7 separate regions of the Homo sapiens genome follow, and regions 2, 3, 4, 5, 6 and 7 are each linked to region 1. The links are contacts of gene promoters, found by promoter capture Hi-C in blood cells and fetal thymus (Javierre and others, 2016). All regions are on one chromosome and are shown on one strand. Each heading gives the region's core, a stretch centred on a gene start or on the middle of the fragment in contact. The rest is flanking DNA. Distances are from core to core; before and after follow the strand shown.

Region 1 (4,034 bases), core at 1,091-3,590:
ATTTAAAAAATCCTCCCACCCTTGAGTTAGGTAAGACTCAAGGATCCCCCCTTGTTTACCTATGACCAGGCAAAAGAAAGACCCTCCAAATTCTCATTTTTTGCTTCAACTATGAATTTATGAATAATTTGCTGATCTGCTTGGCCCTACAGATCAAGTGGAACAAAATACTTGTTAATCAAACTTTAGTTTCTCTCCTTCCCCCAGGTTCCTGAGCTTTGGCCAACTCTCAGCCAGAGCCAAGGAATAACATTCTCAGATCTACTATTAGATCAAGCCACCCTTATATCCTACTTCCTCACACCAAAACTTTCTAGCACAGTTCACTCCTTGGAGATTCTTGCAGATCTTTTGGTTCTACCCATTGCAAAAGTCCCTTTTCTCCTTTTGTGATAACCCTTTTGAATAAAGTCTCTCCTAAGTCCAGATTTCTTATCTGACATTGTCTTTTAAAAATTCTGCATAGGAGAAAATTAAGACTTTCTGCTGCCTTAGGATTGACATCACTTTACTTTAGTGCCTAAATACAGCATGTTTTGTATTCTAAGATTAACATTTAATATTTTTGTAGCACTACCTAAGAATCAAAAGAGAATGAAATAAATGTAGAATACTTTGATTAGACCTCTCCTACTACCTTAGGCAGTAAACAAAAGTATTTGCTCCTCATACAATTTGAACGCTGCCAGCTCAGGGAATTATCCAGCTTTACTTTAAAACATCAGTAGTTTTAAAGAGTTCTTAAGCATTTTCTCTTGCTGCCCATTACCAAACGGTAAGGAAGGTAGATTAGGTTGAGGAAGCTGAGAAAACTCACACGCGGCCATGATGCTTGCAAGGTCTAGGACATTATCACAGGGGTTTCGGGGTGTTAATGCAGAACACCCCCCCCACCACTAACAAAACAGCAAAACAGCCACTAACAAAACAACAGCAGAGGGAATTGAGGATTAATTAGGGAACTCACTTTTTCTTCCTAAATTTGTAGGGGAGATGCAGAAATACCCGTTCCAATATGTTAATTTCCCTTAACATAGTTTTTTAGTTTGTTACCAGTCTCCTTATTAGTGGGAAAAGTAACATTTAGAGGAAATTTAACAAAACAAAAAATTTACTTCGTTTTTAGGTCAACTGATGTCTCTTTTATGAAAAACATAAAAAAAGTTTTCATGAAATGTTTTATGAAAAAAATTAAAGGCTTTTCTTGGCATAGGGTCTTACAACTTACACAGCGTCTTCCCAGATTATCTCTTATTTAATAAAAATATAATTTAATCTACCCCTACTCCCCAAATCAGGAGCTTTAGTTATGGGTACATACGCCTACAAAAGTCACGCATCCTGCAACTGTGAACTTTTTGTGCCTGTCATCTTCAAATACTGATTACCTATAACATGACAATTGGCCCAAAGGCAAAGAGGAGAGTCTCAATCCTCAGGAAGATCTAGGTACAATAAGAAAGGTAAAGGCAATTTAAAACAAAAATATAGTCCATAACACCATTGAAAAGATTTGGTTCAAGTGTGGTAGTCAGGACATGCCAGGTACAGTGCTTAGGGCAAACATCATTTCAGGAACCTTCATAGCCACCCTGAGGAAAGTACTATCATTCTCATTTACAGATGAAGAAACTCAAGCCTAGAGCTGTTGTTATCATGCCTAACAGAGTGCCCCCAAACCCTGCAATGATTCCCAACCCAACCCTGTAAGAGGCCACATACATTTCTTCCTTAGTTCACGGCTATTTACAAATGACTAAAACCACCAGATCCGTCCAGTGGGCACCTACTAAGTTCATGGTACCGGGATGGAAAAATAAACATTAGCCTTTGGCCTCAAACGGCCAGGGTTGAAAGGATTCTGATTTGAAAAATTAAAAACAAAAATAGCAGAGATAAAGGCTGTCTACGGAGTTCAAGGCCACAATAACCCTAAGTAGTTCACGTCAAAATCGTAGCTTTGAAGGTCCTGGGCCTACAGGACAGGCGACGACCCTCAGAGAGGTCAGAGGCGGCAGAACCTGTGCTGGGCTTTGACACAAGGCGTTGCGTCGCAGATGAACTACGCGGGGGTAGGGGTGAGAGGCCCCGGCCAGCAGCTGGAAATCCCCCTCACGTGTGCGGGCCTCCTCTTCCACCTCTCCCCGGGTTCCCCCGTTACGCCGCCGGGCTCCCTCGCCACCCAGGGGCCTGTCTCCACTCTCCCACTCCTCTCCAGGGCCTCCCCCGTTCCCCTTCCACCTTAGCTTGAGCTCTCCTCCGCCCGGCTTCGGGCAAGATGCGAGTCCACACAGGCCACACTCGACCGACCGCTTCCCAGCCAGTCCCCGCGCTACCACTGAGAGGACGGCAAGCGCGGGCTAGAGGAGCTCAACGCCACCACAAAGAGACGTCCGGGAGAAGCCTAGAGCGGACACGAGGCTGGCCGCCTCCGGGGACGGAAGGGGCGGGGCGGTGTGAAGTGGCAAATGATTCAAGGCGAGGCAAGAGGTGCTTCAGATGCTGTCTTTTGCAGTCCTCCGAGAGGTTAGGGATGTGGGAGGTCCCTGGGGGCCATCTCTTACAAGACACAGTTTCCACTAAATTGGATCGTATTTGTACATCTCTACACCTGTGCGTGATAGTAAACTTTTGCACCCAAATACCCCGACCCCTGAAGGAGAGTGTGAGTTAAAAGGATCTGAAGAACGGACCCTTTGTTTAAGGTCTCACATTCTATTTCTTTAATTCAAGCGAAATATATTCCAAAATGCATCTTTTATTGTAAGCTATAAAAATAGCTATTACTTCGAGTAAAATGTAGGCTCCAGGAAGATGCTTGTAAATTTTCTCAGAACAGAAATGGTATTTTTATTGTATCCTTATTGTCTGTCACAGTATAGGTGCTCATTAATTTTTAAAGTGGGTTTTATTATCTAGAATCCAGGAGAACTGAAAGTCTCTTAAAGATTCTTGGCCTTTTAATTATCTTAAGGTCGGGATAGCAGGGAAACAAAAACTTGTTTTAAACTCCCAGTGAAAAATGAGGAACAGGTAAATAAGACAAGCCCCACCAAGGCCCAAGCGTGCTAGTAATTCTCTGCATCTACTGTAAGCTGTTTTCTGCAGTGCGTCTATGGTCCTCCCACCACTTTCATACTGCTCGCCGACTAGGCAAGCGATTTGATGCCTAGAACTAGGGAATGACAGAAAGGAAAAAACAATGAATAGTTTCTTCAACTGTGTCTGCAGGAGGTTGCATTCTGTAATTCTTTTACTGTTTACTTTGTGGTTGGCACTTTGTTAAGCAATGATTAGACAAAAACAAAATTTATTTCTGCTTCCAAGGAGCTCACAGACTAGTGAGAGAGGAATAAACAGTTAATCACAGTGTGGTGTGAAAAGTGTCATAACAGAAACACATGGATATAAACAGGATAAAATGATAGGGGCTAAAGCAGGAGCGTTCTGGGAGGAGATTAATGCCTGCATGGAACTTAATTTGATGCAATTGTGACTTCCTAGTAAACTAGGCAAGCTATCCTAAAGGTAATGAAACAGAGAAGGCTCACAGATCAAATTAAGATTATTAAATAATATAGCCTATTCAATTTAAGTATCCAGTGAAAAGGTGAAAGAGTTGTGGTAAGTGGACACACTTAGGATAAGGTGCAAGCAAGTGGAAGGACGCCATCACCTGAATCATGGGTTAAGTAATGTTCATATATCCTATCTGCCACAACAGCCTTCTCCGCTGGTGGTATACTTACGAGGACCAGAGGTGAGGTGTCAGCAAGGAGGCCCACAGGTGGAAAGTGCTTTGGGCCAATGGTACACACCTGCTTTATTGGATAGACGCAGAGAAGTATGCCTGGTCACAGCCAGAGCTTACTCGGTAAGTTGTTGAACAGATACAGGTTTTATTTGCATTTCCTGGGCAGAGCACATATGAGACTATTCTAAGTGTGACCAATGGGTGGCTGATTTAGAGGTGACATAGTTAATAGCCCAGAGATGTCATGATTGCTCATTGCTTAGTTTTTCCATCCCTTTTT
Region 2 (4,034 bases), core at 598-3,097, 3.0 Mb after region 1:
GCCACTGAGGAGGAAGGGCTGGCTAAGGGAGGCCGGGGCGGAGGAAGCCAAGCTCTGCAGGCCCTGACAAAGTCCTCCCGGCCTCCACGCGTCGCCATGGCAACGCGGGGTCTGTGCTGGCCGGGATTGGCCGGCCTGGCGCGCGCAGGGCCCGCTGGGAAAGCGCGTCCCCGCCGCGGCTCCGCCAGTTTGAACTTGGCGGGCCAGATGTGGGCGGCGGGGCGCTGGGGGCCTACTTTTCCCTCTTCCTACGCCGGTTTCTCTGCTGACTGCAGACCCAGGTCTCGGCCCTCCTCGGACTCCTGCTCAGTCCCTATGACGGGCGCACGTGGGCAGGGGCTGGAGGTGGTGCGCTCGCCGTCGCCGCCGCTGCCGCTGAGCTGCAGCAATTCCACCAGGTCGCTGTTGTCTCCCCTTGGCCACCAGAGCTTCCAGTTTGACGAGGACGACGGTGACGGGGAGGATGAGGAAGACGTGGATGATGAGGAAGACGTGGATGAAGATGCCCATGATTCAGAGGCCAAAGTGGCGAGCCTGAGAGGAATGGAGTTACAGGGGTGCGCCAGGTAAACCCGAGGCCGCCCGGCCGATTCAGCCCTTTTCAAGATTCCTTAGACCCTCTTAAGTACCCCCTTCTAACATCCTCCTGCCCTCCGCCCCAAAGGCAGAGCAGGCACTTGCAGACTGAGGTGCCGTGGTTTTTTTTGCACATAAAGAGCCCTGTGCAAATTCTTGCAAATGACCATAGATTTCCTATGGCTCTTAATCCTTTTTTCCTGAGATATTATGATTGCTGCAGTCTCACTTCCCAGAAAAATGTACATAGTCTCAAACACACAAAACTCTGCTACCATTTCAGGCGTTCTATGAATCCTCAAAAGCCAGATTGTGCACTGCAGAACTCTTATCCCAAACCTGAACACCAGAACGTGGTTTACTGCACCTTAGTAGTACCTGTGGTTGGTTATTCTGAAAACATACTGATTGCTAGTGAAGTAGGTTGTAGTAAACAGGTCACTTTTTATAACATAAAGTGCTGAAGCACAGAGATTAGCAATGTCAACCTCAGCATGTGGAGACGTGGTTAGAGAGGATCTGAGCATGCACAGAGGAATGGATGTCATTGTATCAATGTTAGGACCAATGGGGTTATTAAAACTGTCTTAATTTGTTTATTTCTACTGTTACTCACTCAGCAAACATTGTTTGCCACATATTAGTCTACGTACTGGGGACCGTAAACAAGATACTGGTCTCTACTCTCATGAATTGAAGCCTAAATCAATCCACTTATTTTACAGATAATAAAACCATGGCTCAGAATGCAAAAAGTGACTCAAAGGCATGCACCTAGTTATTAGCAGACCTGGGTCTACTACGAAGATAGACAGATCATGTTCTCTTTCCTAAACTGCATGCCTAGTATTGGGTATACAGAAGTAGGAGCAAAGGGCCAATCCCTGAAGGAATATTTCTGAGACAGGCCCAGTAATGCAGGTCTATTCTGGGATAGACTCATTACGTTTTCTTCGGAAATCATTTACAAGTTTATGATTGTCAAGCTGTGTAAGGCACAGTACAGGAGCTCTAAGAAATACAGGCCAGAGAACTCATGCTTTATGTGTAAATAGCAAGATTCCCCCTTCAGTACAGGGTGTTCATATCCAGCATGAGTGAATGGAATATGGAACCCATATGAAGTAACCCGTATACATGGTTACAGGAGTGAATTAGTTACGAATGAGAAGTAAAAGTAAGTACATTGGTGGGAATGGAGATCAGAAAGAGTAACCAAGCAAGCCACTCATCCAGGCTGGTTGTAGCAACAAGAAACAGGCCTCCTCTGATCAACCTGATAGTAAAATTTAATGGTAGAGTTAGGGTTTCAGTAAATTGTTTTCATCTGGGCCTTTGTAGGTATTCTTCAGGACTGAGTTGGTCTCAAAGGTATTTAAAGTAAATTTGAAGGCTTTAGGAAATACTTTCTGAGCATAATCAACTGGACTAAGCAATCTGGACACAAGTTAGTGACCTGCGGAATAAATGACCATCGGAACTATAGCTCAGCTACTGAAACCTTGCATTAGTTTCCAAGAGCCAAAGCCCTGACTAAGTGGAGCCTGCCAGGGGAGGAGGTGAACGTATGTACGTCTCACTTATCCAAAGCCAGAATGAGCTGGTAGCACCACAGGGCTAAGGCTGCCTTCCTTATCACATTTCAGTCCCTATGAATCAAAGGAGTAGCTGGGACGTGGGTTTGAAAAGAGAATGCTGAAGTTGTCAAGCATTGTGTGTGGCAAGTGTCAGATGCTTATTAGGTGCTCAATAAACGTTTGCTGACTGCATGTCCATTTCCCACTTCCTAAAGAACAGATACATGCAGTGATTATTGTCAAATGCTTCAGAAACTTAGCACTTCCTTTCAGGAAAGGTAGATTTTTAGAAAATTTCCTCATTCTTTCTCTCCATTGGTCCTAACATTCTTTGATACAATGACATCCATTCCTCTGTGCATGCTCAGATCCTATCTAACCATGTCTCCACATGCTGAGGTTGACATTGCTAATCTCTGTGCTTCAGCACTTTGTGTTATAAAAAGTGACCTGTTTACTACAACCTACTTCACTAGCAATCAGTATGTTTTCAGAATAACCAACCACAGGTACTACTAAGGTGCAGTAAACCACGTTCTGGTGTTCAGGTTTGGGATAAGAGTTCTGGAGTCCACAATCTGGCTTTTGAGGTCAAACTGCTGACCTCTCTTTGGTGCCCTGGACAGCTTGGGGGTGACAGGATGAAGAGAGCAGGCAACCTGAGTCAGCCCTTTCATTGTTCTGGGTTTTGAGTATTCTGTGTGAAGCAGAGAGCAACCTAGAGCTGTGTGGGATTTTATGCCTTTTCTCCATGCCTCACCTGCCATATTGATCTGACTGGCAAAACGAATCGGGTAAGGCTTCTTTGAGCTAGGCTCAGGCATCAGCTGCACATAATGGATATTACCTCAAGGTATTTTTGGTATAAATAGTGCCATGTTTAGAGGATGCATTGACCTTCAAGGGTATTGGTCAGAACTGAGATTAAGCTCAAAGTTAGCTTCAGACAAGATAATGAGAAGCGTTTTCCTGGAATATTTTACAATGTGCTCTGGGCCTGCTGTTTATTCAGCTTTATCCTGGTTTTTCTACCACTATCCATTAGGAAAACCATGCTGTAATAAATATCTTGTTCACAAATGGCCACTTGTCAAGCCTTTCTTGATTATAAGTAGAGCTGTAGTGTGTGCGCCACACATTTTGAACACATTTGTTATAAATATTAAGGAAGGAAATTTAATATTCAAAGTGTCATTTCTTAAAAGAAAAGCCCACTGATCTGATTGTCTTTCAACAACTGTTTCCTAGGACCCTACTATATTCTAGACCCTAAGCCAGGCTCTTGAAATAAAAAAATGAGTTGAGATATATTTTCTTTAAGGAACTCATGACCTGTGGCAGAGATGAGCAAGTGACAGGAAGCCCAAGAGTTGTGGCTCCAGGCAGTGCTGGAGTTGAATTTTGAAGGGACAGTAGGAGTTCGTCATAAATGACTTACTAAGTACTTACTGAGTGCCTGGAACTATATTAAGTGCTTTAGCATGGATAGTTTCATGCAATTCTGCCTGTAAGGTAGCCAGCCACAACTGTCATCTCCATTTTATAGACAAGAAAACAGAAGCTTAAAGAAGTTTTTTAAAAAATGTACATAGCTTAGCTGGGCGTAGTGGCGGGCGTCTCTAATCTCAGCTACTCGGGAGGCTGAGGCAGGAGAATGGTGTGAACCAGGGAGGCGGAGCTTGCAGTGAGCGGAGATCGCGCCACTGCACTCCAGCCTAGACGACAGAGGGAGACACCGTCTCAAAAAAAAGAAAAAAAAAAGAAAAAAAATGTACATAGCTAGGAAGAAGCAGATAGGATTTCACCCCAGGCTGTTTTACGCCCAAATCTAAGCTCTTAATCTGACTTTATGCGGAGGTGGAAGAAAGGAATTTCAGATTT
Region 3 (4,034 bases), core at 1,535-4,034, 2.8 Mb after region 1:
CTGCACTCCAGCCTGGGCAACAGAGTGAAACTCCATCTCAAAAAAAAAAAAAAAAAATTCAAAAAATGTTGAAAAGCTTGACAAGTTTGTGTTATTTTAGAATAAAAGGGGCAAATTGGTAGAATTACTATAAAGTTTTTCCCTATTATCGCAACATCCTTCATTTTCTCTTTCATATCAAACATTTTCTAAATTTTCTCTTACGTTCTACAGATCACGAAGTATGTTTTAACATTAGCCTGAGGCAGAGGGAGAACGAGAGAGAGAGAGAGAGAGAGAGAGAGGTATTAGCAGATATTACCAGATTTTGCCAACCAGTCCTAGAAAATACCATCTTCAGCATCATCCTGACACCCAGCACCACTAACCCAGCCTTGAAGCTTTCTTTGCTTTGCCCCTTTCCAAAGTAATCTTGGAAATTACAAATGACTGGCAGTTTGCCTGTGTTTTTAAAAGCACTGCTTCAGGGTGTTTTATTTTGAAAATTAAAAGACATTTTCAAAAACTTTTGGATTGTTAACCTTTTCATTCTGGCTGCCGCTTTTCTTATTTGAAGATAGCCATGGTAGCTGTCACTAGACAAAAATAACTTAACAGCTTGGGAATTAGCAAACAGGTATTTAAGAGTGTCTTTTTTTTTTTTTTTTTTTTTTTTTTGAGACAGTATTTGGTGTCTAGTTAGGAAAAAGACAATTTACAGAATATGGAGTCTTCCCTCCACATCCTACCCAATATTTCTCCTTGGGTCTACATTTAATTTCCTCTTTCCATTTCAGATTTCTTTCAAAATATTTGATGTAGACAAAGAAGAGCTTTTCAGAACATTTCAGCACCACCACCACCACCACAGCCCCCTACTCCACCCTAAGTGCTGGTTTTCTGATTACACATCATCAGGGCATGCGCAGATTTTGCATGTAGTTTCTTGAAATAATTGTGTCATGCTAAGATCTTTCTAAAATGTTCACTTTTATTTGGGATTCTGAGGAAGTGAAAACTACCCAATTCCATGGCTGAACTTCGTGTTGGTATTTTGGTCTTAACAAATTATCAGCTTGACCAGGTGGTAATCTTCCTGCTTTTCTATTCTGATTTTTCTACCTTTACTTTTCTATCTCTTTTCTTATAACATCTAGTTTCTTTAAGAATCATTTAATTTTTGCCTACTTCTATTTCTCACCAGTAGTTTATGCACTCAGACTTTGGAACGAACCCACATGTGGTTCTGTAATTCAGAAGTTGCTCCCTTGAGTCTCATTTTCCTCTTGTGTTAGAATTGAAAGGGAAAGATCAGGAAAAGAAAATCAGATTTAGAAAAGATTAGGCATTGCCGGGCACGGTGGCTCACGCCTGTAATCCCAGCACTTTGGCAGGCCGAGGCGGGCAGATCACCTGAGGTCAGGAGTTCGAGACCAGACTAACCAACAGGAAGAAACCCTGTCTCTACTAAAAATACAAAATTAGCCAGGTACGGTGGCACATGCCTGTAATCCCAGCTACTCGGGAGGCTGAGGCAGGAAAATCACTTGAACCCAGGAGGCGGAGGTTGTGGTAAGCCAAGATTGTGCCATGGCACTGAAGCCTGGGCAACAAGAGCGAAACTCTCTCGAAAAAAACAAACAAGAAAAAAGAAAATGAAAAGATTAGGCATTTCCATATTTCTGATATTTATCCAAATGTTTTCAAATTTTGGGTCAATATGGGTCTTCAGAAGTATTGAAAGGCTATCTAACCCCGTAGTATCCAACCAGCTCAAAAGAGTAAGATGCTTTTTGGTGATGTTTTGAAAAAGGGCTGTCTTCAAGAATGGCCTTCAACCAGTCGTGCCAGAAGCCTCACTACGAGCCCTCGCATCCCAGAGGTCCCATCAGTTCTACACAAGTGGCATGTGCTGCTCCCAGCCATCCTTCACCCTTGCTCGAGCTCTAGGTACAGTAAAGAGGGCCCAGAGCCCAAATTTGGTCACTTGTGTAGCTTAAAAGGATGTTTAAAATTTGTCGACAATTTTACATTGTTATTTTTTGTTCAAAATAAATCATTGTTTTCAATTAGCCCTAAAAAATTAGATGCTGTTTCCTGTGTCCAATAGGACCACACTAGAGATGTTGATAAGGTGTGTAAAAGTATCTTATTTGAGACCATGATAGAATGACTGCAAGCCTCTGGGGCTTAATGTGAAAGCTCTTCCATCCCAAAGCTTCCCATGCAAATATGGAGGCATCAAAGCCTAGAAACTATGCACTACCTTGAAGATTCATTCACTAGAGTAGGTGCATGTAAGATATCTGATCAGTAGGGATTAGACTTGATATTCTTTTCTTTATTCCCTAACCCTATCATGTCTTGAAATATTTATGTATGTATATTTACGCATTTATGTATACAAATCTTTGTGTGTGTATTTATATGTATATGTATATAAATTTATATGCATATAAATACACATACACACATAGTTTCTTTTTTTTTTTTTAGACAGAGTCTTACTCTATTGCCCAGGCTGGAGAGCAGTGGCATGATCTTGGCTCACTGCAGCCTCTGCCTCCCAGGTTCAAGCGATTCTCCTGCCTCAGCCTCCCCAGTAGCTGGGATTACAGGTACCCACCAATTTTGTATTTTTAGTAGAGATGGGGTTTCACCACGTTAGCCAGGCTGGACTCGAATTTCTGACCTCAAGTGATCAGCCAGCCTGGGCCTCCCAAGGTTGGGATTACAGACATGAGCTACTGCACCCAGCATAGGTACATGTATGTATGTATGTATGTATGTACGTGTGTGTGTGTATATATATATACGCACACACGCGCACACACACACACACACACACATATATATATATATATATATTTTTTTTTTTTTTTTTTTGAGATGCAGTTTCACTCTGTCACCCAGGCTGGAGTGCAGTGGCGCGATCTCCGCTCACTGCAACCTCCGCCTCCTGGGTTCAAGCGATTCTTTTGCCTCAGCCTTCTGCGTAGCTTGGACTACAGGTGCACGTTGCCCCACCGGGCTAATTTTTGTATTTTTAATAGAGACAGGGTTTCACCATGTTGGTCAGGCTGGTCTGGTTTTGGACTCCTGACCTCGTGATCCACCCATCTCGGCCTCCCAAAGTGCTGGGATTACAGGCATGAGCCACGGCGCCCGGCTGATACATGTATATTTTTAATGTATAGCCAGCTTCTCACTTCAGGTAGCTTTTTGGCACCTATGCTTTTATTTAAGCTCGATAACTATTTCTCACAGGTTATGTTATTATTTGGGTCAAAAATATTTAGGGTGCCTTTTACACAAAGGGTGAGGTAAACTCTAAGTGCCCAGGACTCCCTCTGTGTCCTTCATTCCAGAAAGCAGGGCATTTTTAAGCTTGCACTCTGCTTGGCTCATTCTGCAACATAATCTTCAGCATGAGGTCATCATGGAGACTGGAATTTTGAAAGTGCTTGATCTTGGCCGGGCGCGGTGGCTCATGCCTGTAATCCCAGCACTTTGGGAGGCCGAGGTGGGCGGATCACCTGAGGTTGGGAGTTCAAGACCAGCCTGACGAACACGGAGAAACCCCATCTCTACTAAAAATACAAAATTAGCTGGGGTGGTGGCGCATGCCTGTAATCCCAGCTACTTGGGAGGCTGAGGCAGGAGAATCGCTTGAACCCAGGAGGTGGAGGTTGTGGTGAGCCGAGATCGCGCCATTGCACTCCAGCCGGGGCAACAAGAGCGAAACTCCGTCTCAAAAAAAAAGAAAGAAAAGAAAGTGCGTGATCTTAACTTGCAAGAAAAGATGGTTACCCTTTGAGGTATGTCTCTCTGAATTTTACATAATCACGTAAATTGTTTCCAAAACAATCAGTAGGCTGGGCACGATGGCTCATGCCTATAACCCTAGCACTTTGGGAGGCTGAGGTGGGAGGCTCCCTTGAAGCCAGGAATTTGAGACCAGTCTGGGCAACATAGCAATACTAGGTCTCAACAAAAAAATAATAATAATTAGCTGGCATGGTGGTGTGAACCTACAGTCATAGCTACTCTGGAGG
Region 4 (4,034 bases), core at 756-3,255, 2.8 Mb after region 1:
AAGAATGAACTGGACAGGATTTCAATATTAGATATTGAAAAAAGATTAATGAATATGAAAACATAGCAATTATCCAAAAGGAAACATAAAGAAAATCTTGAAAAAAAAATGAACAGAGCGTCACTGAGCTGTGAGACAATGCCAGTTAGTTCAATATACATGTATATTATGTACATGCACATGACTCCAATAGTCACACCAAAGGAGAGGAGCAAGAGAATGGAAAGAAAAAATATTTGAAGAAATAAGGGCAATGTTTGCATTTGTCTTGCTCTACCTGGTATTCCTATCAAGGCACCTGGTATATATTAGGTGTTTAATAAACATTTCTTGAACACATTTGCAGCAAAAAAAAATGACAACGAGTAAGAGATAAGCACCTGAGTGTTACTGCAACGTATTTAGGCCATCAGAGGACAAAAAAGGGGAATAATATGGAGAAAAGGCTTGGTAGAAGTGGCATGCCTTCAGCAGGGACCCACGAAATGGGTTCAACTGAGTGTGTACAAAGTTTGGAGACTAGGAAGGGATGAAGAAGGGCATTCCACACAAGAACAACACAAATGAAGATTTGGAGCCTGGCACAGTGGCCCACGCCTGTAATCCCAGCACTTCGGGAGGCCAAAGCAGGAGGACTGCTTGAGCTCAGGAGTTTGAGACCAGCCTGGGCAACATAGCAAGACCCCCATCTCTACTAAAAATTTAAAAATTTGCCAGGCATGGTGGTGCTTGCCTGTAGTCCTCGCTACTGGCAAGACTGAGACAGGAGGCTCTCTTGAGCTGTGATTGCACCACTGCACTCCAGTCTGGACAACAGAGAGAAACTCTGTCTCTAAAACAAACAAAAAGACTTGGAATCAGGAATAAATATGGTTGAAACTATACTATCTGGACTGAAGTGGTGGTTGCACTTAGTGGTAATGAGAAATGAAGTTAGTTGGATGAGTTAGGGTCAGAGTATGCAAGGCTTTAGAAATAGGAAACAGGAGAGAAACCATTGAAAGTTTCTGAACAGAACTTGTGATGATGAAATCAGAATTCAAGGGGAGAAAAAGGAGCATAGTGGTGGCATCCATGATGGATTTGGAGAAGAAAATACTAAAGGTGAATGGAAAGGGTGGACCAGGGGCAAACAGGTTATTAAAACAGTCCCATCATGAAGTGTTGAAATGCTGGATGTAAACACACCTACCACAGTATCAGTACAGACTAAGGGCTTGGATAAATGTTAGTCAAATCCAAGTACTAAAATTCTTCTTGGTTCGCGAAAATTTCAGAAGTGGCTCAAAAATCTGTAATGCATTAAGAATATTATTTGCTTCACAATATTTCATTTACTTAAGATTTTATAAGAATCAGCTGCTTATAAAATTGTTACTTTGTGGTGCACCAAAGCACCTTGTTCTCTCCCTCACCCAGATATGTTTCATGCTCTTTGTACTTTCCACCCCTTAACAGATTTGGAGGGAAGATTCAAGCCGTGGATTTTTAAATTTAAAGCAATGCTGTCACAAATTGAGAACTGACAACATGTCATTACACATTTAATTGCCACCGAATCCCAGAGTTTAAAAATTGTAAGGACCTAAGAGATAGGACCTCTCGTTGTACAGATGCGGAAACTGAGGCTGAGAGAGGGTAAGTGAACAGTCCCAGGTCACAGAGCTGCTAATGGGCAAGGTGGGACTAGAATCCAGGCTTGACTCCTCTACGCTGAGCCAAGGGTTCGAAGCGATTGGGATAAGGGAAGCCTGAGGCAGGGAACGAGAGTCAGGAAAGCAGCTCTTCCCAACCCTAGGAGGCCGGGGGACCTCGTCACCGCGGAAGGAGCGGAGCCAGGCCGACCTAAAAAGCCGCAAGTCCAGGTACCCTTACCCTGATGGCCGCGGCGACACACTCGGCCACCTTCCTGATCTCGCGATACTAGCCGGTACTCACTTTTCCGGCTTCCCCTAGGCCCCGCCCCCCCACCTCAGCCCTTCTGTCGTCATTTCCTGTGGGTCTGTAGGTTAAGGGAGAAGATGGCGGCGCTAGGGGAACCCGTGCGGCTGGAGAGAGGTGAGTGCAGCCGAGGCTCGGCGGAGGTGGGCGGAAGGGTTGGGGGAGTGCTGTGTCGCTGGAGGGGAGGAGGAGTGACCCAGGCTCTGAGATCCGGGCCACGCTGTCCCTTGTGCCGGCGCCAGAGGCCGCCGTTGTCTCTGTGCCTGGCTCTAGGAAGGGCGCTTACGGTATTTTGTCTGTTAACCGTAAGCCCTCCTCTGTTCACACGGACTGTTCCAAGGCACAGCACAACTAAACACAACCTGCCCGCTTCGCAGACACACGCCGCACACGCGCTCCCTTGGTGAGCACAGCAGAAGCAGCATTCGGAGACCCGTACACCCGAAAAGCAAACGTCACACACCCGGTTCGCACAGACTACACTCATTGCCTGTACAGCACGAGAACGGACACACGGTACAATTCAACAGAACCTCCTTTCCCCGCTGTTTGCACACAAACTCCTTCATTACTTTCTCCACAACCTCGCTTGTATTCGGGTTGGGGTATTTGCTAGCTTTTGTGCCCCTCCTAGAAATGGAGAGGTTGCTTTAAAAACAATCCTACTGACTTGGTCTTGGGAAGGAGGTTACGTAAGTAAGCCGAATAGTGGTAGATGCTAAAACACTTGCAGGTGCAGTGTTTTTCATTTCTTACAAACCCTACAATTGCAAACTGGTTGGCTGATTGCTTCCTAGAGCAGACTGTCAAGGAAAATAAAACCACCTCTGCTGAGTAATTAGAGATAGAGAAGCCTACGAAAATAACTGGCTATGCGCCTACCATGATTTCCAGCATTCCAGCGTTTCCAGTCCTTTTACAGATTTCCAGCATTCCACTCTGTCCCTAAGTCCTTTATTTCAAACAATTTCAAGCATGCTTTTCATACACCAGCATTAGAAATCATTGATAGGAATTGAGAAGTACAAATAAACATTTTGAGTACTGGTGGTAAAAAAAAATGTATATGTAGGATGGAGACTGAAATTATATTGCACATATTAACATTTGCAATTAGTCTAAATATTACTATTGTTCCCTAAGAAAACACATTTTTAGAATTACTGTACTTAGAAAAACCTCTTTCCTAATGCCTTCCCACAAACAAATGTGCACTTAATGTTGCTGATTTGCTCTTTACCGTGTTCACCATTTGGAAGCCTCACTGTAAATGAGATTGTTTCCGTTAAGCCTATTAAAGCATCATTTTAGAGGACTAGCTACTCTGGGAAGACTTGCCGAGTTAGGCCTAAGTCTCTGACATCTTCCTCTTGAGCACAGTGGCACTGTGTTTTATAGATGGGAGCAAATCTGTTTGGTGTTAACAGGAGTAAGTTTTTTCTTTGAAAGCTAGTTAAGATTCTAACGTATTGGTCTTTTGTGTTTTTGTTGTTGCTGTTTGGAGACGTAGTCTTGCTCTGTCGCCCAGGCTGGAGTGCAGTGGCGCGATCTCGGCTCACTGCAACCTCTGCCTCCCGGGTTCAAGCAATTCTCCTGCCTCAGCCTCCCGAGTAGCTGGGACTGCAGGCGAACGCCGCCAAACCCGGCTGTTTTTTGTATTTTAGTAGAGACGGGGTTTCACCGTGTTGCCCAGGCTGGTCTCGAACTCTTGAGCTTAGGAAGTCCGCCCGCCTCGGCTTCCCAAAGTGCTAGGATTACAGGCGTGAGCCACTGCACCCGGCCGGTCTTTGTATTTTTAAATGCAACACAAAATGTGGAACTTCTGTGGCATTTAGTTTTGATAGTCTTGGCTTTGTTTTTTGCTGTTACAGATTTCTTTTCTGTTCTTCAGTAGAAGACTCCACCTCTTAGTAGGATGAATTACAGTCAGCCCTCCATATCCATGGGTTCCATATTTCAACCAACTGCAGATTGAAAATACTCAGAAAAAAATCGTGTCTGTATAGAACATGTACAGACATTTTTTTCTTGTCCTTATTCCCTAAACAATGTGATATAACAACTGTTTACGTAGCGTCAGATATTGTAAGTAA
Region 5 (4,034 bases), core at 885-3,384, 2.6 Mb after region 1:
AATGATTTCCAGATAAACAAGGCTTACGTACATGTTTTGAAGCATTAGAACATTGCAGACACTCTTAGACATCACATTTTTTAAAGCAAAATAACAGTAATTTTTCACATACCTTTGGAGCCTTTCATAGCCCATTCAGAGCTGAGTTAGTAGCTGGAAGTTTCCTTTATTTTAAGGTGATATTTTAAAACCATTTAACATGTATAGTAGGTCAACATTGGTGCATCCAGAAAATGAAGCATTTAGGAAATCTGTTTCAGTGTCTTTTCAATGTGTGTAACTTTTACTTGCAAACCAATGGAACCAAGAAAGTCATCATTTGCCTAAAATGCAGTCATCACCTCAAATGATTCATTTATACTATGTGAGTTAATTGCCTTCATCTCATTAATGGCCAAGGAGGGAAGGGAGGTCCTGGGGTATTTCTTGTTCATTTTGACTCACCAGGAGGGAAAATCCTGTAAAAAAAGAAATGCAAATTTCTAAAATCCTGGCTCAAAGTCCGTGGGTTTCCTGTTTAAAAGGGGCGCCATGAAAATGTAAGCTATTCCCTTTTTCCTGGAATCTTTAAGAGTCCCAGCTTTTCAATAGTCAAAATGTAGATGATTGATATCATTTCTTATATGAATAGCACTGGTTTGTAGTTCAGCACGCACAGTGAGCTGGGCACGCCCACCTGATAGTATAGCAGAGAACTTGTTTACATTCTTTTTACATTCATCTTCTAAAACCTGGGGTGCTCTCTCTCTCTCTCTCTCTCTCTCTCTCTCTGTGTGTGTGTGTGTGTGTGTGCGTGCACGTGCGCGTGTGTGTAGAGGGGGAGAGAGAGAGAGAGAGAACTGTGAACTGTGAAATATAACACAGCCAGCAGCTTTGGGTCTCAATCGTAGACTTACTCTTAAGGAAATTTACAGAATGGAAAGGTCATGTTCAAGTAGTTTATTAACATTTTGAGATGTAGGAAATTAATCCCGGAGTACAGAAGAACAATTTCAGACTTCCTGAATAAAAACAGACAGCATAGAGAGTGGATGATAGCTAAACTCTGAATATCTTTTGAGAAGAAAGGCACTCCCATTTCAGGTGCCCATAATATGGATTTGATTTTAGTGATTAAAACATTAATTTTCAACTTGCATCTCCCTGTGTGGAAGAGTTCAATTTGTGTGAGGGGTCTCGCCTATCCAACAAAAGTGAATATGTCCCTTTTATAGGGTAATTGCTAACTTGTCTCAACTTGTTTTCAAACAATTGTTATAGAGCACTCAGTTTCCACTAATTGCAAAATTGTTGCTTAATTGAAGGACTCTCAGCCATCTAGTGCAGCCATTCAGCCACTGGCAGGCTCTGTGATCTCAAACTGTGAATTGCATTTTAAAGAGGAATCGAGGAGAGAATTCTGTGGAATTCTAGGTTTTAAGTGCTGGCTGTTGTTCAATGGAAGAGGAAATCATTTGAACAAGAATCGCATCAAGTTGTGTTGTGATAAATTTTCTTTATTAGGATGAATAACATGCACAGATGAGCTTCAAAAGTGAATGAGCAAACTTACTGGTTACACTCTGCATCCATTTACTCTGTTTAGTATGGAGTAATGTTAGGCAATAAATGATGCTGGCAAATGAAATCCGTATGTTATTTGCATGTGGTATTTAAACCTAGGAAACATAGAGTGGCTTTGGTATTTGTAGGCTTAGTCATGTGTGTCCTAAACGTCCTCTTAAACTTCTACTTAAGGCATAGAATTATTTAATCCTAAATAATTTTATACTTAAGTGCCTCACTGGATTTCCAGAATATTTACACTGTAAAGATTTAGAAAGGTCATGAACCCAATTATTGACTATATGGAATCATTATTGATGGCAGATGCAAAATGGAGCTCACTAATGTACTGACATTGAAAACCTTTTGCAGGGGAGAGGAGGGGGAGTGGTAAATGTGTGTGTTCTTTAAGTGGAACAGGAAGGTATTCTCTTTTCTGTAGAAAAATTTGAGTATCTGGTCAGATAAGTGTGGAAGCTTTCATTTAAATTAAGTATTTAAGTTCAAGTAGAAGCTCTAGGGCACTTATCCTCTTGATGAGACAAATCTTATCAAATATACTAGATGCTAAGAAGTGGCTCATTGCCCTGATGTCTCATTTATAGATTGATGTTTGAGGATGGGTTGCATTAAGTGAGTTAGGGGGCTGAGTGTGGGACAGGAGAACGATTGGAAGGAAGCAAAGTAAATTTACAAGCTTTAGTGACAGCCATAATAAAGTAAAAGTTTATTTCCAGAGAGCCTAGAGAGTAAGGAACGTTATATAGTTTTCCCCAAAGGTTCACTTGAAAGAACTTTTCATTGGTTGTCATGGTAGTAATGTCCTGATTTTGAAATCTCCCAGAACCTAGTAGCTCTTAAACATGCTTTCATCTTGGTTCCTTTGGTCTGACGGAAACTTTATGACGACCCTCTGTGTTTTTGACATGCCTCTGCATTTTTGGAGAGAGGAGGTCAGGCAAGGGAGGATTTCTTAAAACTAAGACAGTATAGTAAGGAAACATAAAATTATATGATAAAAAATCACTGAACTTCAAATTGACTTACTGAAATAAAACCTAGAAGGCAACCTGTCGTTTAATTACAACTAGCTTGTATAAAATTAAAATTTATAAAATGGGAATTCAAAGAAAATAAACGGGCAGTTCCAAGTAATTTAAGCAACTCACCAAAAATTGAAGTAATAGTGCCACCTAGAGAACAAAATCACCAGCTTTACTAGCCAAATGGCTTATTTCCATATGAACCATTTTTCCAACGCTACAGTTACTAGGATTTCCTTGTTACCATATTCAGATCTTGTGAGTGTGTATGGGGGTGGGGGTTGCATGTGGAATTACAGATGAAATTTTAAAACAAGCAGATCCACAATTTGATATATGCACTAAATCCTTTTAACGTTGTAATGTAGCCAAATGTAGAATAGCATGCCAGGAATCAACGGCTAGCATCCTTTTTAACATTTATTATTTTCATGGATATGTACCAAACCGAACCATTGAGTATAAAGGTTCTGATTTTATTTATTTGCTACAGGCAATTCATTATACTTTCTGAGATACAATAACACCAAATAATTTGAGTAGAGAGACCTTTAAGAATGTTTTCGATTTATGATCTACCTTTAACTTTAATGTACTCAGAAGATGTGAGAATAAAATAAAGTCAAATATAAGCAAGATTTTAAACACACACACAAAAAACAAACAAACAAGAAAAAGGAAGAAAATTATAAGGATTGCCTTAACCTTAGAATAGATGAAGGTATACATCTGAGCCAGCACCAAAAAAAAAAAAAAAAAAAGTTATGGAACCAGGAACCAATAATTACAAATTGACTTAAAATTCTTGGATGACAAAAATCTATATTTAGTTCATTTTTGCATGCGCCCACAACAGCATCCAAAACAGTTCTGGGGAGGCACTTTGATAAATGTTGCTGAATGCACTAATAGATTGATTAATGGCTGCTTCAGATTATCACTAGTGATGTAGACAGAAACTTCATGAAAATGGTTTGTCTTGCTGGAAGAAAGGCAGAAATTGGAGGAAAAGGTTTAATAATATTTTTCCCCAGTACCTATTATAAAAGTCATTTAGTTGGCTTAGTTCTATAATTTCTTATGTGTAATTTGATTCACTTATGAAATTGTGAATATATGAAATGTTAAAGTTGATTTAGACAGCAACTATAAGCTTGTGGATTTTCTTTTAAATGTCTTCAAATTTTTAAATGCCAGTGGAGATGCCAGCGACTGTGCTTCAGGGAGTAGAATATAGTATATCTTAAATTTGTGCCAATTTCTGGTAAGCAGAGAAAAAATTGCATGATAACCAAAGAAAGTCATATTGTTTGTGCTTTGTGTTATTCATGGAAGCAATCAGGTGCAGAAAACTTTCTTTTTCAGAAAAAAAAAATTACTAAAATAAAGGTGCGTGTGTGTGTATGCACATATATCTAAAGGGAGAGAGGGAGAAGGAAACTTACT
Region 6 (4,034 bases), core at 493-2,992, 2.6 Mb before region 1:
GCAAACTGGAAATGTGGGATCTAAATTAAAAAGTTTTCACAACTAGCTATTATATTTATAAGTACTTTTGTGAGCGCTAAAGTTTTGTCTCTATGAAAAGTATAGGAAATGGAGTGGCATGCTATAAATGTTTTATGACACTTAGTTTGAGATACCCACAACTGGCACTCAGAGTGAGTTACGCAGGCAATACCAAACAAGTGGCAATAAAACCTTTATAGTCCCTCACACCATTATGTAGTTTGTTTATGTCACATAAATCAGGGAAAGATATTAAGGGAAAATTCTAGTGAGTATTTTTAGTAATATTACTCTGTCACCATATGTTCCTTTGCCATTTAAATGAAATTTCCTTAGTTCACTCTAAATCAGTACAATTATATTTATTTTCAAATGTTACATGTCTACAAATAACATCATTACATTTTTTATCAATACTATTTTTAATTGACAAATCATAATTGCATACATTTATGGGGTACAATGTGATGCTTTGATATATGTAAATAAATCTTTTAAAAATTTTGTACACTTGATGATACTATCTGAAGAATGTCTTCTTCCCTACTGAAAATATACTTCCAGCTCTGTGAACGTTTCGGGATCTCTCAAATGATTCGTAACCAAGCTGCTTCAAGTCTGATCTAGGTAATGTCAAACTCTAGAATGAGCATTGTTGGTCCCGTGTTTTTGTTTGTTCGTTTTTTCAGACAGTCTCGCTCTGTCGCCCAGGCTTGAGTGCAGTGGGGTGATCTCGTCTCACTGCAACCTCCGCCTCCCGGATTCAAGCGATTCTCCTGCCTCAGCCTCCTGAGTAGCTGGGAATACAGGCGCATGCCACCACGCCCAGCTAATTTTTTTGTATTTTTAGTAGAGACGGGTTTCACCATTTTGGCCAGGCTAGTCTCGAACTCTTGACCTCAGATGATCCGCCTGCCTCAGCCTCCCAAAGTTCTGGGATTACAGGCGTGAGCCACCGCGACCTGTGAAATACGTATTGATTTTCTAATGGGATGGGAGTTAGGGTGGAAAATGTGGGGAGATTGTTCATGGGCATGTTCTAAGGCATGACTAACTCTAGACAATAAACTCAGAAGGAAGTGGGAGATGGAGGTGAGGAAGAAGGAAAGAGTTTTTTTTGTTTTTTTTCAGACAGGGTCTCGCTATGGTGTCCAAGGCTGGTCTTGAGCTCCTGGCCTCAAGCAATCCTCCCACCTCAGCCTTCCAAAGTGCTGGAAGATTCCTTCTTAAGTGTAGGATTTACTCCAATTCATCTTAAAACCAAACTGCCTTTGATTTAATCAATTTTCAAATCTTGCCCCGATTTTAGAATTGAGATAGAGTGTTTTGGTTTTTCTTTTTTGGGGGGGAAAGGAAAGGAATATGTAAATGACTAATTGGAACTTCTGAATGGGCATTTTTTTTTCTTAGATAGCGTCTTGCTCTGTCGCCCAGGCTGGAGTGCAGTGGCGCGATTTCGGCTCACTGCAAGCTCTGCCTCCTGGGTTTTACGCCATTCTCCTGCCTAAGCCTCCCGAGTAGCTGGGACTACAGGTGCCCGCCACCACGCCCAGCTAATTTTTTGTATTTTTAGTAGAGACGAGGTTTCGTCGTGTTAGCCAGGATGGTCTCGATCTCCTGACCTCGTGATATGCCCACCTCAGCCTCCCAAAGTGCTGGGATTACAGGCATGAGCCACCGCATCCAGCCTGAATGGGCATTTTTAAAGTAGCTTACATATTTATTCATTCAATAGATATGTATTTAGAGCCTAATACAGTGCCAAGCATAATACTAAATGCTGTGAATACGAGGGTAAATTTAATACAACGCCTGTCTTTATGGAACCTGTAATTTATGAGGAAAAGAGGCAGACACACAACTAATTGTAATGCAATAGGATAGTGTTAAATATAATAGAAATTGGAATAAAGCACCAGAGGACAATTGAAAAGGAAGTAATTGATTTTGCCTCTCAAAAAAAAAAAAAAAAGAAAATAAGTATTTCAACTGGTAGAAAGATTGTAGTTCTATTGAGTACATAGTTCATTGCCTTCCTTTTGTAGTTGAGGAAGCTGAGGCCTGGTATTGAGTGACTTGCTTTAAGATGATGGAGGGAATCAGTTGGGGTGAGACCCAGGAAACCCCATCTTCACTGAGGTGGCCTTGTTCATTAGCTTGTTGGGAAATGCAGAATTTGGGGTTGCCTAACTAGAAATGTAGTCAGTAAGTCCACACATTCCTATGTTATAAATAGACCAACCATCAAGAAGAAAGATCCAAGAAGGTCAAGTTTGTGGTTTCACTGAGAATACAAGGAATATGTGTGTGAGAAGTGATTTGAACAGGGAAAGAAGATATGGTTTTAAATTTTTCCCTTCTCTTCTGGCATTGAGGGAAACTATAAGCCCTGTCTTTGCCAGAGCAGCCCTGGTTTCCATCTCTTAGGTCAACATCATAAATTAAATTAAAACATCAGAAAGGAAATAAAAATTAGCCAGGCATGGTGGTGCACCTGTAGTCCTGAGAGGTGACAGCGTGCTGGCAGCCCTCGCTTGCTCTCGGCGCCTCCTAGGCCTTGGCGCCCACTCTGGCCACACTTGAGGAGCCCTTCAGCCCACTGCTGCACTGTGGGAGCCCCTTTCCGGGCTGGCCAAGGCCAGAGCCGGCTCCCTCAGCTTGAGGGGAGGTGTGGAGGGAGAGGCGGGGGCAGGAACCGGGACTGTCCGGGGCGCTTGCGGGCCAGTGCCTGTTCTGGGTAGGCGTGGGCTCGGCGGGCCCCCCACTCGGAGCTGCCAGCCAGCCCCGCCAGCCCTGGGCAGTGAGGGGCTTAGCACCTGGGCCAGCAGCTGCTGTGCTCGATTTCTTGCCGGGCCTTAGCTGCCTCCCCCGGGGGGCAGGGCTCGGGACCTGCAGCCTGCTATGCCTGAGTCTTACCCCCTGCTGTGGGCTCCTGTGGGGCGGAGCCTCCCCGATGAGCGCCGCCCCGCTGCTCCATGGCACCCAGTCCCATCGGAGGCCCAAGGGCTGAGGAGTGTGGAGCACTGCGTGGGAGTGGCAGCCAGCTCCACCTGCTGCCTGGTGCGGGATCCACTGGGTGAAACCAGCTGGGCTCCTGAGTCTGGTGGGGACTTGGAGAACCTTTACGTCTAGCTTAGGGATTGTAAATACACCAATGGGCACTCTGTATCTAGCTCATCTAGTGGGGACGTGGAGAACTTTTGTGTCTAGCTCAGGGATTGTAAATGCACCAATCAGCACCCTGTCAAAACGGACCAATCAGCTCTCTGTAAAGTGGACCAATCGGCTCTCTGTAAAATGGACCAATCAGCAGGATATGGGTGGGGCCAGATAAGAGAATAAAAGCAGGCTGCCCGAGCCAACAGTGGCAACCTGCTGGCATCCGTTTCCACGGTGTGGAAGCTGTGTTCTTTCGTTCCTTGCAACAAATCTTGCTGCTGGTCACTTTTTGGGTCCACACTGCCTTTATCAGCTGTAACACTCTCCGTGAAGGTCTAGCTTCACTCCTGAAGCCAGGGAGACCACGAACCTACGGGGAGGAACGAAGAACTCCAGACGCGCCGCCTTAAGAGTTGTAACATTCACCGCAAAGGTCTGCAGCTTCACTCCTGAAGCCATCCAGACCACGAACCCACCAGAAGGAAGAAACTCCGGACACCCTCCGTTTAAGAACTGTAACACTCACTGCGAGGGTCTGTGGCTTCGTTCTTGAAGTCAGTGAGACCAAGAACCCGCCAATTCCGGACACAGTCCTAGCTACTCCAAAGGCTAAGGCTGGAGGATCACTTGAACCCAGAATTTCGAGGTTACAGTAAGGAATGATCATGTCACTATGCTCCAGGCTGGGCAACAGAGCAAGACTCTGTTTCTAAAGAAAAATTAAAATAAAAAAAGTTAGAAGGAAACTAAGTCCCACTATAATTTTCTCTGTCTCTGAGGCTTGACCCTATCAATCATCTTTTGACTCTGCTCATTGTTGTCTGCCATACCCCTCCAGGGAGACAGCAATGGAA
Region 7 (4,034 bases), core at 587-3,086, 2.3 Mb before region 1:
CATCTTACTCATTAGTTATCTTGTGCCACACTGTAAGCACAGGTGCAAGTCATTTTCCAGTTTTAGCAACTACAGTATACTTCAACCTTCTCAGCTAAAGAAATCTTTTTAATCCACTTGAAGCACACAGCATGGTGTCTGACATGTAAGGGCTTAGTTACCAGTAACACCCTTTAAAATGCACAACAGGCCTGGTGCGGTGGCTCACGCCTGTAATCCCAGCACTTTGGGAGGCGGAGGCGGGAGGATCACAGGGTCAGGAGATCAAGACCATCCTGACTAACACGGTGAAATTCTGTCTCTACTAAAAATACAAAAAATTAGCCGGGCGTGGCGGCGGCAACTGTGGTCCCAGCTGCTCAGGAGGCTGAGGCAGGAGAATGGCATGAACCCGGGAGGTGGAGCTCGCAGTGAGCTGAGATTGCGCCACTGCACTCCAGCCTGGGCGACAGAGCAAGACTCCATCTCAAATAAAAAAAAAAAAGCACAACAAACACCATGTGCATCAACCACCAATATAAATAAAGTCATGAAGGGGGCACCCATAAACTTGAAGCATTTTTACTTAACTGCTAGGTAAAATCTCAGAATTTTACTGATTAAAATATGTATTTTATGTGTTCTAAAGAAGAAAACCAACTCTCAACATTTAGATTGGCAGAATGTCAGAAATGTCGTGTTTAAACAAGTATCCCCTTCCAGTTCCCTACTGTGGGTAGCATTTATCCACTCAGTGCCCAATAAGTGCTATCTTCTTGGGAATGCAATGGTTTACAGATGAGGTTCCTTGCCTTCACTTAGCCTACAACCTTACTTTCAACTAAGGGTGTTAAATGCTAGGATACAAGTAGAGGGTGCTGTAAAAGGGAGGCACTAACCGAAATATGAGAGGGGTGTTTCTGGCAGAGACATGAAGCTGACTATAGTAAGACTACTTAGACAAGGGGTAGGCAAACGTTCTATAAAGGGCCAGAGAGTAAATATTTTAAGCTTTGCAAGCTATATGGTATCTGTTGTAACTAAACTCTTGGCAAAAGCAGGCACAGACAATATGTAAATGAATAGGCATGGATGTAATACCAATGTTATGGACCCTGAAATCTGAATTTCATATAATGTCCACATATCATGAAATATTACCCTTTCTTTGATTTTCTTTCTCAATCATTTAAAAATGTTAAAACCATTCTTAGTACACGGGCTATAGAAGAACCAGTGCCAGCTCCTGGTCCAGACTGGCAAAGAGCATGGTGCTTTTATACCTGACATAGGCTCGCTGGGTCTAGAGTGTGATAAGCAAGAGGAAGGACATGGGTGGAGAGATGGAATATTTACATTAACACAAAGTTTTTTGTAGTCTGCCACTGCACCATCCAAAAATGATGAGATGCTTCACCACATTCACCAAGCTCATGCTACAGCAGTAGGTTGAAGCCCATGTTGGAAAGGCCCCACCTTTCTTTTTTTAGAAAAAAAGCCAAATTTCACTTTTTAAAAAGTTCAAAGATGAGGGAAAACTACTTTTAATCTTTATAGTTATCTTTAACTTTAGGTCAAATTTATAGAAATAGATTTATAGCAACTCTGTGGAGAACAGAGTAAAGCAAAATTACTGGCCCTACTTCTCTTTAAAAAACATCCCCACCTACTTATACTGTCTGTTAAGTGATATGTTAGTTCATTACTTTTGAATACCTCTTCTTACAATCCACAAGTGCCTCATAAAGTAGTCTTAAAAGGGTGTGCTTTTTTTCAGTGGTGAGATTCCAGTCAGAAATCCATTTTCTAACCTACAAGAGATTGACAAAAGGAGAAAACTGAGTAACACATATAAAGTATAACATATAAAAGTACATTTCTGGCTGGGCGTGGTGGCTCACGCCTATAATCCCCAGCACTTTGGGAGGCCAAGGCAGGAGGATCAACTGAAGTCGGGAGTTCGAGACCAGCCTGACCAACATAGAGAAACCCCGTCTCTACTAAAAATACAACATTAGCCGGGCGTGGTGGCGCATGCCTGTAATCCCAGCTGCTCAGGAGGCAGAGGAAGGAGAACTGCTTGAACCCTGGAGGCGGAGGTTGCGGTGAGCTGAGATTGCGCCATTGCACTCCAGCCTGGGCAACAACAGTGAAACTCCGTCTCAAAAAAAAAAAAAGTACATTTCTTATAAGCAGAACAACTATTCCACACAGTAACTCACTTGATCCAGCTCAGTTGGGATGTACTGGATGGCCCCACAAGATGCTGCCACTTTAATAAGGCTGCAATACACTGTGTATCTTACAGGAGTATTCTTATCCATCCCGTGGAAAAGGTTGCTTAACCTGGTTGGTTAACAAACAAATAAACAATGTTTGAAATCAGCAACCAGTTTTAAGTTGAGGTTAGCTCTCACCACAAACCTGTGGCAGGTACCGTTAACAACTTCATATTACAAAGGAGGAAACTAGGGCACAGAAAGGTCAAGCCACTTGCCCAAGGTCACAGCTAATATGAGCCACAGCTGAGAGTCAAGTTCCAGAATTCCTGCTCTGCACCATTAAAAGTTAGTAACATGAAAAAAGCACCTAGAAAAACTGAGTTTCTTTCAGATCTTAACTTACAACTGCAGTCTCAGAGACGGGCGTTCACCTTCGCGAAATTTGACCAGCTTTTCACATAGGCTTTCAATCAAAGCTTCTTGCTTGTCTGGTTCCAGGATCAAGAGTAGGGATACCACACTGTTCATCACACTTTCAACATCTACACAAGTATGGATAACACAATCAACAGTGATACTACAATACTCAATGCGTCTAGTTAAATATGCATTTCCAGTGTTTTAATACAATGAAGACCATCAAATGTAAGACACTTTCGCATTCAGAAAGCAACTTGTATATTTTATTAAAGAGGAAGGAAATTGATACCTAAGATGTGGTTTCTTTTTTTTTTTTTTTTTTTTTTTCAGATGAAGTCTTGCTCTCTTGCCCAGGCTGGGGTGCAGTGGTGCGATCTCGGCTCACTGCAACCTCCGCCTCCCAGGTTCAAGCGATTCTCCCGTCTCAGCCTCCCAAGTAGCTGGGACTACAGGCACCCGCCACCACGCCCGGCTAATTTTTGTATTTTTAGTAGAGACGGGGTTTCACCATATTGGCCAGGCTGGTCTTGAACTCTTGACCATGTGATCCACCTGCCTCGGCCTCCCAAAGTGCTGGGATTACAGGCGTGAGCCACTATGCCTGGCCTATGATGTGGTTTCTAACTAGTAAAACAGAGACTGATTTACATGTATATAAAGTTTCAATTTTCACTGTCATGATATTCAATCATTTGGAAGTTACTGGTATGATTTAGGACTAGGATACTTTCTTAATTAAGGAAAACTTTGTGTATACATATAGGAAATCAGAAATTAAAGCTGTCAGCTCTCTGCTTGAATTAGTTATTTTTAAGTATTACAGATATTAATCATATCCCAAATTTAATCTAATTTTTTTGTATATGTGCTGCCGAAATCAGCATCCAAGTTTGATCTCTAAACCTTAACTAGAGATTTCCGAACTCAACAATTCTGAAAATTTCCCATTCTATCTCAATAAACAGGAAACTGGCCTAATAATTAAATGGCTATTAGATTACTTGAAACTGTATCCCATTTGATGTTAATCTGAAACTTATGAACAGGAAAGAGCTTCATTTTTTTCATTTTATTCTAAGACTATAAGCATTTAGTGTAATAACACTTAAGAAATACACCTATGTATAAAATAAAGGTTTTCTCAAAATAGGTTTACTTTATAGGTATAATAGATTACACAAACTGAAAGCATGTGTGAAGGTAAGATTGAAAACAACAGTGCTTAGACTCTGGTTAACAATGTATTGTATAGTTGAAAGAGCTAGAAGAGAACTGTTGAATGTTTCCAACATAAAGAAAAGATGTGTGATATTCCAATTACCCTGATTTGATAATTACACATTGCATACATGTATCAAAATATCACCTGTGCCCCCAAAATACATACAACCACTACCTATCTATTTAAAAGTC

The links. Contacts are between HindIII fragments. The CHiCAGO score rates a contact against its expected background, and 5 or more counts as called.
Region 2: a contact is called between a fragment that was not itself captured here and the fragment with the promoter of ARL14EP in region 1, in 1 of 17 cell types (activated CD4 T cells). The highest score is 6.3, in activated CD4 T cells.
Region 3: a fragment that was not itself captured here is called in contact with the fragment with the promoter of ARL14EP in region 1 in 1 of 17 cell types (total B cells); the score reaches 5.0 in total B cells.
Region 4: a contact is called between the fragment with the promoter of LIN7C here and the fragment with the promoter of ARL14EP in region 1, in 5 of 17 cell types (non-activated CD4 T cells, total CD4 T cells, total B cells and 2 more). The highest score is 13.5, in non-activated CD4 T cells.
Region 5: a fragment that was not itself captured here is called in contact with the fragment with the promoter of ARL14EP in region 1 in 1 of 17 cell types (total CD4 T cells); the score reaches 5.6 in total CD4 T cells.
Region 6: a contact is called between a fragment that was not itself captured here and the fragment with the promoter of ARL14EP in region 1, in 3 of 17 cell types (activated CD4 T cells, non-activated CD4 T cells and naive CD8 T cells). The highest score is 7.8, in activated CD4 T cells.
Region 7: a contact is called between a fragment that was not itself captured here and the fragment with the promoter of ARL14EP in region 1, in 3 of 17 cell types (non-activated CD4 T cells, total B cells and activated CD4 T cells). The highest score is 5.8, in non-activated CD4 T cells.

The regions. Positions count from the first base shown.
Region 1 is chr11:30,321,410-30,325,443 of GRCh38, reverse strand. ARL14EP (ARF like GTPase 14 effector protein) reads right to left here and starts at 2,340. Exons shown (of 4, transcript NM_152316.3): 1 at 2,242-2,340. It overlaps ARL14EP-DT (ARL14EP divergent transcript), which reads left to right and starts at 2,498. Exons shown (of 2, transcript NR_187437.1): 1 at 2,498-2,526. RefSeq lists silencers at 2,111-2,240, 3,895-3,954 and enhancers at 2,311-2,560, 2,073-2,678. The HindIII fragment of the contact is 9,349 bases long and covers 1-4,034 here.
Region 2 is chr11:27,359,368-27,363,401 of GRCh38, reverse strand. It overlaps CCDC34 (coiled-coil domain containing 34), which reads left to right and starts at 187. Exons shown (of 6, transcript NM_030771.2): 1 at 187-566. The coding sequence starts at 208. RefSeq lists silencers at 171-240, 2,086-2,380 and an enhancer at 1-793. The HindIII fragment of the contact is 3,738 bases long and covers 1-3,716 here.
Region 3 is chr11:27,478,413-27,482,446 of GRCh38, reverse strand. LGR4-AS1 (LGR4 antisense RNA 1) reads right to left here. Exons shown (of 4, transcript NR_131170.1): 4 at 14-239. Among named protein-coding and RNA genes, the nearest start is that of LGR4, 7.6 kb to the right of the region's middle. The HindIII fragment of the contact is 1,169 bases long and covers 2,200-3,368 here.
Region 4 is chr11:27,504,740-27,508,773 of GRCh38, reverse strand. It overlaps LIN7C (lin-7 cell polarity scaffold C), which reads left to right and starts at 2,005. Exons shown (of 5, transcript NM_018362.4): 1 at 2,005-2,058. The coding sequence starts at 2,022. It overlaps BDNF-AS (BDNF antisense RNA), which reads right to left and starts at 1,922. Exons shown (of 7, transcript NR_033315.1): 1 at 1,876-1,922. RefSeq lists enhancers at 1,599-1,888, 1,959-2,088, 1,245-2,444. The HindIII fragment of the contact is 9,378 bases long and covers 1-4,034 here.
Region 5 is chr11:27,693,902-27,697,935 of GRCh38, reverse strand. All of the region lies in intron 1 of BDNF (brain derived neurotrophic factor), which reads left to right. It overlaps BDNF-AS (BDNF antisense RNA), which reads right to left. Exons shown (of 7, transcript NR_033315.1): 7 at 1-458. Among named protein-coding and RNA genes, the nearest start is that of BDNF, 4.5 kb to the left of the region's middle. The HindIII fragment of the contact is 220 bases long and covers 2,025-2,244 here.
Region 6 is chr11:32,887,215-32,891,248 of GRCh38, reverse strand. No RefSeq gene overlaps it. Among named protein-coding and RNA genes, the nearest start is that of QSER1, 3.6 kb to the left of the region's middle. RefSeq lists an enhancer at 1-87. The HindIII fragment of the contact is 5,575 bases long and covers 1-4,034 here.
Region 7 is chr11:32,587,303-32,591,336 of GRCh38, reverse strand. EIF3M (eukaryotic translation initiation factor 3 subunit M) reads right to left here. Exons shown (of 11, transcript NM_006360.6): 3 at 2,605-2,743; 4 at 2,202-2,325; 5 at 1,696-1,790. Among named protein-coding and RNA genes, the nearest start is that of EIF3M, 5.5 kb to the right of the region's middle. The HindIII fragment of the contact is 1,687 bases long and covers 993-2,679 here.